Linked DNA regions of Homo sapiens: all the other regions are linked to region 1. Evidence: promoter capture Hi-C in 16 types of primary human blood cells and fetal thymus (Javierre and others, 2016). All regions are on one chromosome and are shown on one strand. Each heading gives the region's core, a stretch centred on a gene start or on the middle of the fragment in contact. The rest is flanking DNA. Distances are from core to core; before and after follow the strand shown.

Region 1 (4,156 bases), core at 1,465-3,964:
CAAGAACCACTCTTCAAATTTGAGGGACACAGAAATGGGGCAAACCTTCCCTATGAGACTGGACTATGGAAAGTAGGAGAAATTGTGGCTGCTGACTTGCTGGCAGTGATTAAGGCAAAGAGGAAAATGTCATGAGACTAAGGACATCAGCCAGAATGACAGCCCCCAAATCTCCTGTCAACCTATAAGGAAGAAGCTGAGGCAAAATGAATACAAGTAGAGAGTTTATTATAAGCTTGAGGATTGCAACGAAAGAGCATAGATTCAAGTTGCCCTAAATAGACACTCTGATTAGCAGCAGTTACAAGTGGATTTTTATAGGGAAAGAAGAGGCAGTTCCTGAGTTATTTACCAACAGTTTACATTAAAATAACATAAGCTATTGATTGGCTATACATTGTTAAACTATAGGGTGTGTGTTAGAATGTCCAGTACAACATTATTAGGTTAATTTATAGCTACTTGTGGCAAGAGCAAGCAGTGTCAAGAGATGAATACATAGCTCAAAGGAGGGAGGCATAGGATGTGATTCTGTCATTTTCTTTTCTTTTTTTTTTTTTTTGAGACTGAGTCTCACTCTGTTGCCCTGGCTGGAGGGCAGTGGCACGATCTTGGCTCACTGCAACCTCTGCCTCCCAGGTTCAAGTGATTCTCCTGCCTCAGCCTCCCAAATAGCTGGGATTACAGGCGCGCACCACCATGCCCAGCTATTGTTTGTAGTTTTAGTAGAGACGGAGTTTCAACATGATGGCCAGGCTATTCTTGAACTCCTGACTTTCTGCCCGCCTTGGCCTCTCAAAGTGCTGGGATTACAGGCGTGAGCCACTGAGCCCGGCTGATTCTGTCATTTTAATGCCTCGCTGGGCCTATTTATTTATTTTTAATTTTTAAAGATTTATTTATTTTTTAATTTTTTTTTTTTTAGAGGCAGGGTCTTGTTCTGTGGCTCAGGCTGGAGTGCAGTGGTGAGATCCTAGCACTACAGGTGCACACCACTACGCCTGGCTTTTTTTTTTTTTTTTTTTTTTTGTTTTTTTTTTGAGATGGAGTTTAGCTTTTGTTGCCCAGGTTGGAGTGCAATGGCACGATCTCGGCTCACGCAACCCGGGTTCAAGTGATTCTCCTGCCTCAGCCTCCCGAGTAGCTGGGATTACAGGCATCTGCCACCATGCCCAGCTAATTTTGTATTTTTAGTAGAAACGGGGTTTCTCCATGTTGGTCAGGCTGGTCTCGAACTCCCGACCTCAGGTGATCCATCTGCCTCGGCCTCCCAAAGTGCTGGGATTACAGGTGTGAGCCACCACGCCCGGCCTATTTTTATTTTTTTATAAAGACTGGGTCTGGCAATATTGCCCAGGCTGGTTGCAAACACCAACACTGCGCCCAGCCATCTGGGCCTGATAATTTAAAAGGACTCTCATTCCTCAGATAAAAGTTCTTTTCGGCCAGGTGAGGTGGCACGTGTCTGTAATCCCAGCACTTTGGGAGGCTGAGACTGGAGGATCACCTGAGCCCAAGAGTTTGAGACCAGCTTGGGCAAGATGTTGAGACCCCCGTCTCTACCAAAAATGAACAAATTAAAAGAGTGTGGTGGCGGGCACTCGCCTATAGTCCCAGCTACTCGGGATGGCTAAGGCGGGAAGATCCCTTGAGAGCCCAGGAATTCGATACTTAAGCTATGATTGCACTAGCCTGCGTGGCAAAATGAGACCTCTTCTCTTACAAAAAAAAAAAAAAAAAAAAAATTGTGTTCTCAACCCCAACGGACCACAATATCCAGTAAAGCTGCTATGGCCCCTAACTCTCAGCACAGGAGGTCCCTTAAGAAAATGCTTGTCCGGCCGGGCGCGGTGGCTCACACCTGTAATCCCAGCACTTTGGGAGGCCGAGGCAGGTGGATCACCTGAGGTCAGGAGTTCAAGACTAGCCTAGTCAACGTGGCGAAACCCCGTCTCTATTAAAAACACAAAATTAGCCGGGTGTGGTGGCGGGTGCCTGTAGTCTCAGCTACTCGAGAGGTTGAGGCAGGAGAATAGCCTGAGCCCAGGAGGTGAAGGCTGCAGTGAGCCGAGATTGCGCCACTGCGCTCCTGCGCTCCAGCCTGGGCGACAGAGTGAAACTCTGTCTCAAAAAAAAAAAAAAAGTTTGCTCCTAACCCCCATCTCAACAATCCAGGACTGAAAAGAAGAGGGACCATGAAAGTCCCTGAAACTACAAGTTGGGCTACGGCTAAAGAAGGTAAATATCAGACTGAAGTGTAAGATGGACATTACTAAGTCTTAATCATCATTTCATGTTTATACCTCACAGGTTGAGATAGATTTCTCAAGCATCATAAATGTAAAGTGCATTAGGGTAGGTCTACAAGAGAGCTCTGAGAACATACAGCAAGGAGACCCAAACCCATCTAGGGCTCAGGGAAGGCTTCCCAAGGAAGCGATGCCCATGCCGAGGCCGAAGGGATCTCATGCCCCACTGCACACACCGCGCGCTCCCCATTCCCAAACAAGGCAGGCTTTTCATGCCTCCCTACCTTTGGACTCTGTTGTTCGTTCCACTTTCCTGGAGTGCTGTCTTCCCTCCCCTTCTGCTCAGTCAGGCTAACTTCACATCCTTTATAATCCAGCTGAAAAGTGAAGCCATGCCCACGGCCTCTCCCCAAAGGAGGAGTGAGTATCACCTGTTCTGAGCTCCGAAGTTCTTGGGGACACCTTGTGGGAACTGCGTGTGTGGTGGCTTGTCTCCACCACCGTACTGTGAGCTCATAGTGTTCTAGAGCCCAGCACGAGGCAAGCTCTATAGATGTCTACTGAATGAAGGAATGAACGAATGATTACATTTTAAATGGGATTAGGGGAAAATGATTCAAGGCAGAGGGGTGAGCTGAGCTCCTTGGAATGGTGTCTTTACCGAACCAAGCCTGGGTTAGGCAGATGTAATGAGCCCACCTATTACAAGAATCTCCATAGAAAGTAGGTCAGTTCTTTCCTATCTCTTTAAGAACGAGAGGCCGCGGCTCCGCGCCTGCGCACTGAGAGAATAAACACCTCTCCTTTTCACCTTCCCCCCTTCTCCCTATTGCCCCAACCGGCGGCAGCCTCCTCCCATACTCCCCTCCTTCGGGGCGGGTAATGGTCCGTCCGTCCCAGGGTGCCAGGCTTGTTTCGGAGGGTGGCAAGCAGAAATGGTACATTCCACTGCCTTCATTACCTTCTGCTTTTCGCGTCTCCTGTTCTATTTCCCCCTACCTAAAGAAGCTTAATAGGCTAGCCCCAAAGAAGGCGGGGGAGCCGGGCGGAGGGGACCGGTCTGAGCCGGTCTGCAGCGCAAGCGCAGTGCGGATAAACAGGAAGCGGGCGGTGGAGGCAGCAGCAGAGGGAGAGCTCGGGGCTTGGAGGGGAAACAGCGGAAGACCTAAGATTATCGGGAGGGCAGCAGAGGCAGAGAACGAGGACAGGACCCTTGGCCGTCTTCTTCCAGGGAACGAGAGGTCACAGCCTCGCTCTCCGCTTAGGCTTCTGGCGCCCCAGCTTAAAGCCGAGGCTGCGGCTGACAAAGGGCTCGCGCCGGTGCCGCCGCCCTTCTCATCCGGGCATTCGGGTCCCTGCGGAGAGGGAGGGGGAAGGGCAGAGGGGGAGGGGAAGGAGCCGGAGGGGCGCACACTTGGAGCTGAAGCCCTCTCCAGGGCTCCGGGCCGGTGCCCCAACGGACAGAGGTCGAGGAGGACCCGCAGAGGTGGCAGCGGCCGGGGGCAGGAGGATGGTGCAGAAGGAGAGTCAAGCGACGTTGGAGGAGCGGGAGAGCGAGCTCAGCTCCAACCCTGCCGCCTCTGCGGGGGCATCGCTGGAGCCGCCGGCAGCTCCGGCACCCGGAGAAGACAACCCCGCCGGGGCTGGGGGAGCGGCGGTGGCCGGGGCTGCAGGAGGGGCTCGGCGGTTCCTCTGCGGTGTGGTGGAAGGTGAGCGCCCTCCTTCCCTCCCCGTTTTGGCACTAACACGTTCTGTCCTCGGGAGGAGGGTGGTGGCGGGGATTTTGGAGACTCTAAAAGGCCGGAAAGCCTCTGGGTCTGAAATGTGGCCCTCCTAAAGCGAGGGGAGAGACGAGATGTTGGGCGAATCTCCTTGCACGTCTTAAGACGGCGTCGAATTCCCCCCTG
Region 2 (4,274 bases), core at 1,627-4,126, 260 kb before region 1:
ATGTCTGCCTAGTTTATTGTCCAGTTAACTTTAGTCACCTTTTTAAAAGTTGGCATTGTAGGCCGGGCGTGGTGGCTCACGCCTGTAATCCCAGCACTTTGGGAGGCCAAGGCCGGCTTATCACCTGAGCTCAGGAGTTTGAGACCAGGTGGGCTAACATGGTAAAACCCCGTTTCTACTAAAAATACAAAAAATTAGCCAGGCGTGGTGGCATGCACCTGTAATCCCAGCTACACGGGAGGCTGAGGCAGGAGAATTGCTTGAACCTGGGAGGTGGAGGTTGCAGTGAGCCAAGATCACGCCATTGTACTCCAGCTTGGGCAACAAGAGCGAAACTCCATCTCAAAAAAAAAAAAAAAAAAGTTGGGATTGTAAGTAAAACAACTTGCAAAACATTTTCTGAAATAGAATTTAAAACAATTATCTTTTTTTTTTTTTTTTTTGAGACAGAGTCTCGCTCTGTCGCCCAGGCTGGAGTGCCGTGGCGCAATCTCGGCTCACTGCAAGCTCTGCCTCCCGAGTTCATGCCATTCTCCTGCCTCAGCCTCCTGAGTAGCTGGGACTACAGGCACCCGCCACTATGCCTGGCTAATTTTTGTATTTTTTTAGTAGAGACGGGGTTTCACTGCATTAGCCAAGATGGTCTCGATCTCCTGACCTCGTGATCCGCCCGCCTCAGCCTCCCAAAGTGCTGGGATTACAGGTGTGAGCCACCTGGCCTTTTTTTTTTTTTTTTTTTCGAGACAGGGACTCACTCTGTCACTCAGGCTGGAGTGTAATGGCACCATCTTGGCTCACTGTAGCCTCGACCTCCTGGGCTCAGATGATCCTCCCACCTCATCCTCCCGAGTAGCTGGGACTACAGGTGCACACCACCACAACTGCCGAAATTTTGTAATTTTTGTTCAGATAGGGTTTTGCCATGTTGCCCAGGCTGGTCTTGAACTCCTGGGCTCAAGTGATCTGCCCACTTTCACCTCCCAAAGTGCTAAGATGACAGGTGTGAGCCACCACACCTAGCCACAAAATATTATCTTTACTCATGAGTTGGAAACTGGAAAAAGGCTACTTGAAACAATTGATGTGAGTGGGGTTACTAGGATATCTTCCAGCCTCCTAGAGTCAAGGGGTATTACTGATATTGATTAACCTGTATGTAGCAGGGCTTTCCTTAACTGCATCTGAGGACTTTAAAAAAAAATCCTCTTAGCTTTGAGTATATTGCTGAGAGACTCAGTTACTACACAGTTTGTGGGTTTTTTTGGAGAAATGGACTTGGAAAATTTGTTAGCTTTTCAATTAAAAAAGACACCCCACCCCCACCAAAAAAAAAAAAAAAAAAAAAAAAAAAAAAGCCGCGTGTGGTCACCCATGCCTATAATCCCAGCACTTTGGGAGGCTGAGGTGGAAGGATCATTTGAAGCCAGATGTTTGAGAGCAGCCTGGGCAACATGATAAGATCCTGTTTCTACACAAAATAAAAATTAGCTTGGCATAGTGGCAAGTGCTTATAGTCCCAGCTACTTGGGAGGCTGAAGCAGGAGAATTGCTTGAGCCTAGGAGTTCGAGGTTGCAATGAGCTATCATCACACCACTGCACCATAGCCTAGGTGACAGAGCAAGACCCTGTCTCTAAAATAACTAACTAAAATAAAAATAAAGAGACTGATTTTAGCAACCCCTAAAAATCCTATTAGTGTCTCCAACTGATATGTAAAGAACTTATAAGCTTACAAATAATTTTCTCCACATTTATTCTCTCTTTTAATCCTTAAGACTGTCCTGTAAAATACTATTCTTATCTTTCATTTTTTGTGGCTGAGGAAATTGAAGCTCAGGTGTCACTGAACCAAACTGGGTTCATTTGCCCACGTGCAATGGAAAGCCAAACACCAAAGCATCAAGTTTTTGCAGTGAGAAAAGTTAATTGCAAGTCAACTGGAAAGGAGACAGGAGGAAACTCTCAAATCTGTCTCCCTGAGCTGGGGGATGGGTCAGGTTTTATAAACATAGGATAAGAAGGTGAGAACTGATTGGATCTTTTGATGAGGAGATGCCAGGAGGCAGGATCTGACTGGATCCTGCCATGGGGTGATGCCAGGGCTCCATCTTACTGAATCTTGGATCCCGCCATGGTGTCCACCTCTTAATTCAGTCCCTGCTCCTTGATCTGAGCACTTAGGTTCCATCATTGGCTGCATGCTTGGATCATCTGGTCATGCTCAGTTTACATGATCTTCAACCTGGGGTCCGTGGCAACTGAAAAACAACTCGCAACTTTGTTACATAAAAGTTGGACCAGGCTAGGTGCAGTGGGAGTGGTGGCTCCCGCCTGTAATCTCAGAACTTTGGGAGGCCAAGGCAAATGGATTGCTTGAGCCCAGGAGTTCCAGACTAGCCTGGGCAACATGGCGAAACCCTGTCTCTACAAAAACTGGCCAGGTATGGTGGTGTGCATCTGTAGTCCCAGCTACTTGGGGGGCTGAGGCAGGAGGATCGCCTGAGATGAGAAAGTCGAGGCTGCAGTGAGCAGTGATCGAGCCACTGCACTCCAGCCTGGGCGACAAGTGAGATCCTGTCTCATAAAAAATAAAGTTGGCCAGGCGCAGTGGCTCATGCTTGTAATCCCAGCACTTTGGGAGGCCGAGGCGGGTGGATCATGAGGTCAGGAGATCGAGACCATCCTGGCTAATATGGTGAAACCCCATCTCTACTAAAAAATACAAAAAATTAGCTGGGCGTGGTGGCGGGCACCTGTAGTCCCAGCTACTTGGGAGGCTGAGGCAGGAGAATGGCATGAACCTGGGAGGCAGAGGTTGCAGCGAGTGGAGATCATGCCACTGCACTCCAGCCTGGGCGACAGCAAGACTCCATCTCAAAAAATAAATAAATAAATAAAAATAAAAATTAATTAATTAATTAAGTTGGACGAGATTGGTCTGATGTGGTTATACAGAGAGGTTAAGAAAATTACCTAAGGTTACACAGCCAATAGGTGGTGAAGGAGGGATTAAATTCTCATGAATTCTTATCCAGTGAGCCTCTAGGTACACTACTAACAGTTCAGAATGCAATCCAAACAGGTCAGCAGCATGCAGAAATGCCCCAGGCCTGAGTGGGCAGCTGAGCTTCCTTCAAGAAGCAAAGACAGTCATAAAATGGAAGGATATAATTTTACATACACCTCCTTTGCTTTCTAACTTGTAAAGCTCTCGGTCCTTTGGTCACACATCTGCTTTCCCCAAGTCCAAAGTTAAAATTATGCAGCTAGGCTGGGCACAGTGGCTCATGCCTATAATCCCAGCACTTTGGGAGGCCAAGGCGGGTGGATCACCTAAGGTCAGGAGTTCGAGACCAGCCTGACCAATATGGAGAAACCCCGTCTCTACTGAAAATACAAAATTAGCTGGGCGTGGTGGCACATGCCTGTAATCCCAGCTACTCAGGAGGCTGAGGCAGGAGTCTTGCTTGAACCAGGAAGCGGAGGTTGCAGTGAGCCGAGATCGTGCCATTGCACTCCAGCCTGGGCAACAAGAGTGAAACTCTGTCTCAAAAAAAACAAAAAAAAAATTTTGCAGCTATGGCAGTCCAGCCATGGCTGGGGTCCTACTCTGCAGCTGAGAGGAGTCCATGGGGAAAGGTTCTGGCCTTAAGCCTGCAGACCCATCTTCTTTCTAGTCCCAGCTCTCTCATCTGCTAGCCAAGGAGCCAGTGTGCTGTTTGTAGCTTAGTTTTCTCATCTGTAATCTGAGCATCATAACCCCTGCCCTGTGGGCTTCAGGGATAGGAGGATCAGATGAAGTGACTGACAGGGAGGTGCTTTGAGGTATGAAATGCTCTTCAGTGTGTTAGTGGGGAGGATGGAAGTTATCCAAAGAGTCTCCAGGATTGTGGCTCCAGCTTGGCCTGGCAGAGCAGTGCCTCCTTGGGCTGGGGTCAAAGCCAAGTCATCTTTCCACTGTCAATGCCAGGATCTATATTCCATTTATTGTTCTTGACTCCTTTCCTAGCAACCAAAGCTTTGAAAAGGTTCTGCAGAGCATCAGGGACCTTGCCCTTCAGCTCACTATGGAGAGGGACCAGCTGGACCAAGAGCTTCAGACACAGGGCAGCAACATCCAGGCTACCCTGGGCAAGTAAGGGAGCTCGGCCAGGAACTGCAAATTCACAGCCTAAAGCTCAACCTCAGTCTGAGCCTGGTGAAGCCTCTCCTGAGACTCTCAGCCTTTCCCTGGCATCCTGAGTCTGACCCACAAAAGACAGCCTTTACCCAA
Region 3 (4,059 bases), core at 372-2,871, 350 kb before region 1:
CCACTGGCTTTCAGGTATCAGGTAACCTCTCATGGATAACCAGTACAGACCAGAGACCAGAAAACCTCCCTTCTCGGCCGGGCGCGGTGCCTCACGCCTGTAATCCCAGCACTTTGGGAGACCGAGGCGGGCAGATCATGAGGTCAGGAGATGGAGAGCACGGTGAAACCCCGTCTCTACTAAAAAATACAAAAAAATTAGCTGGGCGCCGTAGCGGGCGCCTGTAGTCCCAGCTACTCGGGAGGCTGAGGCAGGAGAATGGCGTGAACCCAGGAGGCAGAGCTTGCAGTGAGCCGAGATGGCACCACAGCACTCCAGCCTGGGCGACAGAGCGAGACTCTGTCTCAAAACAAACAAACAAACAAACAAACAAAAAACCCCTTCTCTAATTTCCAAAACTAAAGAGCCTCAGATGAGGGCCTGTGTCTTATTCATCTGTGTATCCAAAGGCTCACAGTGGGCTCTTCAAGGTGTTTTTTTTTTTTTTTGAGACGGAGTCTCGCTCTGTCGCCCAGGCTGGAGTGCAGTGGCGCTATCTCGGCTCACTGCAAGCTCCGCCTCCCGGGCTCACGCCATTCTCCTGCCTCAGCCTCCCGAGTAGCTGGGACTATATAGGCGCCCGCCACGGCGCCCCGCTAATTTTTTGTATTTTTAGTAGAGACGGGGTTTCACTGTGTTAACCAGGTTGGTCTCGATCGGCTGACCTCGTGATCCGCCCGCCTCCGCCTCCCAAAGTGCTGGGATTACAGGCGTGAGCCACTGCGCCCGGCTCTTCAAGTTTGTTGAATAGCACTGGAGTAAGTAAGGAGTTAAGCTTCTATTTAAGTCCAGCCCAGCTCCCTAAACAGGGGGGCAACATCGCCACCTACTGGCCCCATCGGTAACTGCAGACAGGCTCTGCAGGAGGGATTTGAGAACTTCGTGGTCCGGCAGAAATAGTGCTTTCACCGCAACCGGATTAGTGCCAGGAGTATTGTATTAGACTATCAAATCTCCTAACATACTCAGGTGGACAAAATAAAGTACTAATTCCTAACTTAGGTACAAAAGGCCATTGACATTGAACTCTCAGTGAAATTTCGCAGTATCTTGCCCCCACCTCCCGCACACCTCTGCTTGACCCATTCTAACAGCCCTCTTCTCCCACTGGAAAAGGCACTCTTCCTTACACGGTATGCACTTTTCTCGCTCCTGGCAAACTGCAGCTGTCTTCAGAATCCTAGGCCACCATCAGCCAAGTCTTTTCTTCTTCTTCTTCTTCTTTTTTTTTTTTTTTTTTTTTGAGACAGAGTTTCACTTTGTTGCCCAGGCTGGAGTGCAGTGGCACGATCTTGGCTCACTGCAACCTCCGCCTTCCGGTTTCAAGCGATTCTCCTGTCTCAGTTTCCTGAGTAGCTGGGATTACAGGCGCCTGCCACCACACCTGGCTAATTTTTTGTATTTTTAGTAGAGACGAGGTTTCACTATGTTGACCAGGCTGGTCTCGAACTCCTGACCTCGTGATCTGCCTGCCTCGGCCTCCCAAAGTGCTGGGATTACAGGTGTGAGCCACCACACCGGGCCAAGCCAAGTATTTTCTTGCTTGTACCCTTAGGGGTGCTACTCTGACCTTCAGTTTGGGACAGAACTCAGCTCAGTGCACAGAAACCATTCCCATGCCTGACTTTCCCCATTAGACACTGAGCTCTCTGGGAGTTCTATGACGAGTACATAGCAGGTTCACAAAGACTATTGAATACAGGTAGCTCCATGTTTGGACATACAGAGACCTGTGTTCTTGTCTCAATGTGCCACTAAGTTGCAGTTTCATCAACCCTAAGTAAATCATTTGATACTCAGGGCTGTTTCCGTAGTGGTTTTCAACTAGGGGCAATTTTCCTTCCCAGAAAATATTTGGCAATGCCTGGAGCCGTTTTTGGTTGTCACAACTAGGGGAAACTATTGGCATGCAGTGTTAGAGGCCAGGGACGCTGCCACACATCCTACAACACACAGGACAGTCCTCAAAAGCAAAGACTTACCTGGCCCCAAATGGAATGATCTACTCGATACCCACCTAACAGGGTTGCAGTAAGGCTACACCGGGCGAAGGGCAAGCCCCCAACAGGGCATTAGGAAGTCTCCTGCCTGTGTCCATGAAGCATGATGCAGAGGGGCATGAGCCATGTGTCTGGTTGACTGAATTTGCGGATTTCAGTGCCAGAGCCCATCAGCAAGGGGTAGGAATTCCAGATTCTTCACAAAACTAAGAAGTTTCTAATAGGACCAATTCCACATATCCATTTTTGTATCAGGAATAAAGATGATAAACGTGAAACAACAAAAAACCATTGCAGGGAAATAATCATTAACATATGCTTGATGCCTTTGCCAAAATGGCATGTTGCACATCACAAGGAAACCAAAGAACATCATTTCCAAAGCTTTTTTTGTTGAGCAAGAGGCAGTTATGGAGTGCTTATAATATGCCAGGGACTGTACTAAGTGCTTTAAATTCTCAGTCCTTACAACAAGCCTCTGAGAGAGTCAAGAATCTACAAATGAGTTGAGATAGTATTCTCTCTTTTTTTGAGACAGAGCCTTGCTCTGTCACCCAGCCTGGAGTGCAGTGGTGCGATCTCAGCTCACTGCAAGTAGCCAGGATAGTCTCGATCTCCTGACCTCGTGATCCACCCGCCTTGGACTCCCAAAGTGCTGGGATTACAGGCCCAGCCAGTATTCTCATTTTACATCAGAAGGTACACTCTGGGCTGGGCACAGTGGCTCACGCCTGTAATCCCAGCACTTTGGGAGGCTGAGGTGGGAGGATTGTTTGAGAGTAGCCTGGGCAACACAGGGAGACCCTGTCTCTACAAAACAAAATTAAAAACAAAAACAAAAACAAAACAAACAAAAAAACAACTAGCCAAGCCTAGTGACTACTGTAGTCCCAGCTACTCAGGAGGCTGAGGTGGGAGGATCTCAGCTACTCAGGGGGCTGAGATCAGAGTATCTGCTTGAGCCCCAGAGGCTGAGGCTGCAGTGAGCGGTGATCGTAATCGCACCACTGCACTCCAGCCTGTGCAACAGAGCAAGACCCTGTCTCAAAAACAAACAAACAAACAAACAAACGCAGACTCAGGTTAACCTTCCTAATGAATACTGTTAGGCAATTTGCTAAACCGCCTCATTTGTGTAACACACTAGCTGCAAAACGTAGCAGACTCAGCTTTGCAAGGCCTAAGAGGAAATGAGTTCTGTCGGAAAAAAGCAAACAAGACTGAGAAGGGTTATACAATACAGAAGAAAAGTCATGATTTAAACAATAAACAGCAACCTCACAAATTATTTATGTTTTAAGGAGAATAAATTAATGGATGTATGTCATATTCAACTTAAAAATGAAAACGGGCTGGGCGCGGTGGCTCCCGTCTGTAATCCCAACACTTGTGGGAGGCCAAGGCAGGCAGATAGCTTGAGCTCAGTTCGAGACCAGCCTGGGCAACATGACAAAACCCTGTCTACAAAAAACACAAAAATTAGCCAAGTGTGGTGGCACATACCTGTGGTCCCAGCTATTCGGAAGGCTAAGATGAGAGGATTGCTTGAGCCTGGGAGGTGGAGGTTGTAGTGAGCCAAGTTTGCACCACTGTACTCCAGCCTGGGTGACAGAGCAAGACCCTGTCTCAAAATAAATAAAATAAAAATGCCAAGGCCAGGCGTGGTAGCTCACACCTGTAATCCCAGCACTTTGGGAGGCCGAGGTGGGCAGATCACGAGGTCAGGAGTTCAAGACCAGCCTGGCCAAGATGGTGAAATCCCGTCTCTACTAAAAATACAAAAATTAGCCAGGCATGGTGGCAGGTGCCTATAATCCCAGCTACTCAGGAGGCTGAGGCAGAGAATTGCTTGAACCTGGGAGGCGGATGTTGCAGTAAGCTGAGATCACGCCACTGCACTCCAGTCTGGGCGAAAGTGGTATAGACGTACAATGGAATATCATGCAGTCTTAAAAAGGAAGGGAATCCTGTCACCTGCTATAACATGGATGAACCTTGAGGACATTGGCTTGGCTAAGTA

Evidence for each region. Contacts are between HindIII fragments. The CHiCAGO score rates a contact against its expected background, and 5 or more counts as called.
Region 2: a fragment that was not itself captured here is called in contact with the fragment with the promoter of KCNIP2-AS1 in region 1 in 4 of 17 cell types (endothelial precursors, neutrophils, erythroblasts and 1 more); the score reaches 7.0 in endothelial precursors.
Region 3: a contact is called between a fragment that was not itself captured here and the fragment with the promoter of KCNIP2-AS1 in region 1, in 4 of 17 cell types (total B cells, erythroblasts, total CD8 T cells and 1 more). The highest score is 6.3, in total B cells.

What each region holds. Positions count from the first base shown.
Region 1 is chr10:101,817,626-101,821,781 of GRCh38, reverse strand. It overlaps KCNIP2-AS1 (KCNIP2 antisense RNA 1), which reads right to left and starts at 2,714. Exons shown (of 3, transcript NR_045118.1): 1 at 2,534-2,714. OGA (O-GlcNAcase) reads left to right here and starts at 3,338. Exons shown (of 16, transcript NM_012215.5): 1 at 3,338-3,958. The coding sequence starts at 3,760. RefSeq lists enhancers at 3,309-3,428, 3,230-3,805 and silencers at 3,579-3,638, 3,719-3,778. The HindIII fragment of the contact is 3,022 bases long and covers 238-3,259 here.
Region 2 is chr10:102,080,908-102,085,181 of GRCh38, reverse strand. No RefSeq gene overlaps it. Among named protein-coding and RNA genes, the nearest start is that of HPS6, 18 kb to the right of the region's middle. The HindIII fragment of the contact is 2,290 bases long and covers 1,732-4,021 here.
Region 3 is chr10:102,166,407-102,170,465 of GRCh38, reverse strand. No RefSeq gene overlaps it. Among named protein-coding and RNA genes, the nearest start is that of NOLC1, 16 kb to the right of the region's middle. The HindIII fragment of the contact is 1,609 bases long and covers 817-2,425 here.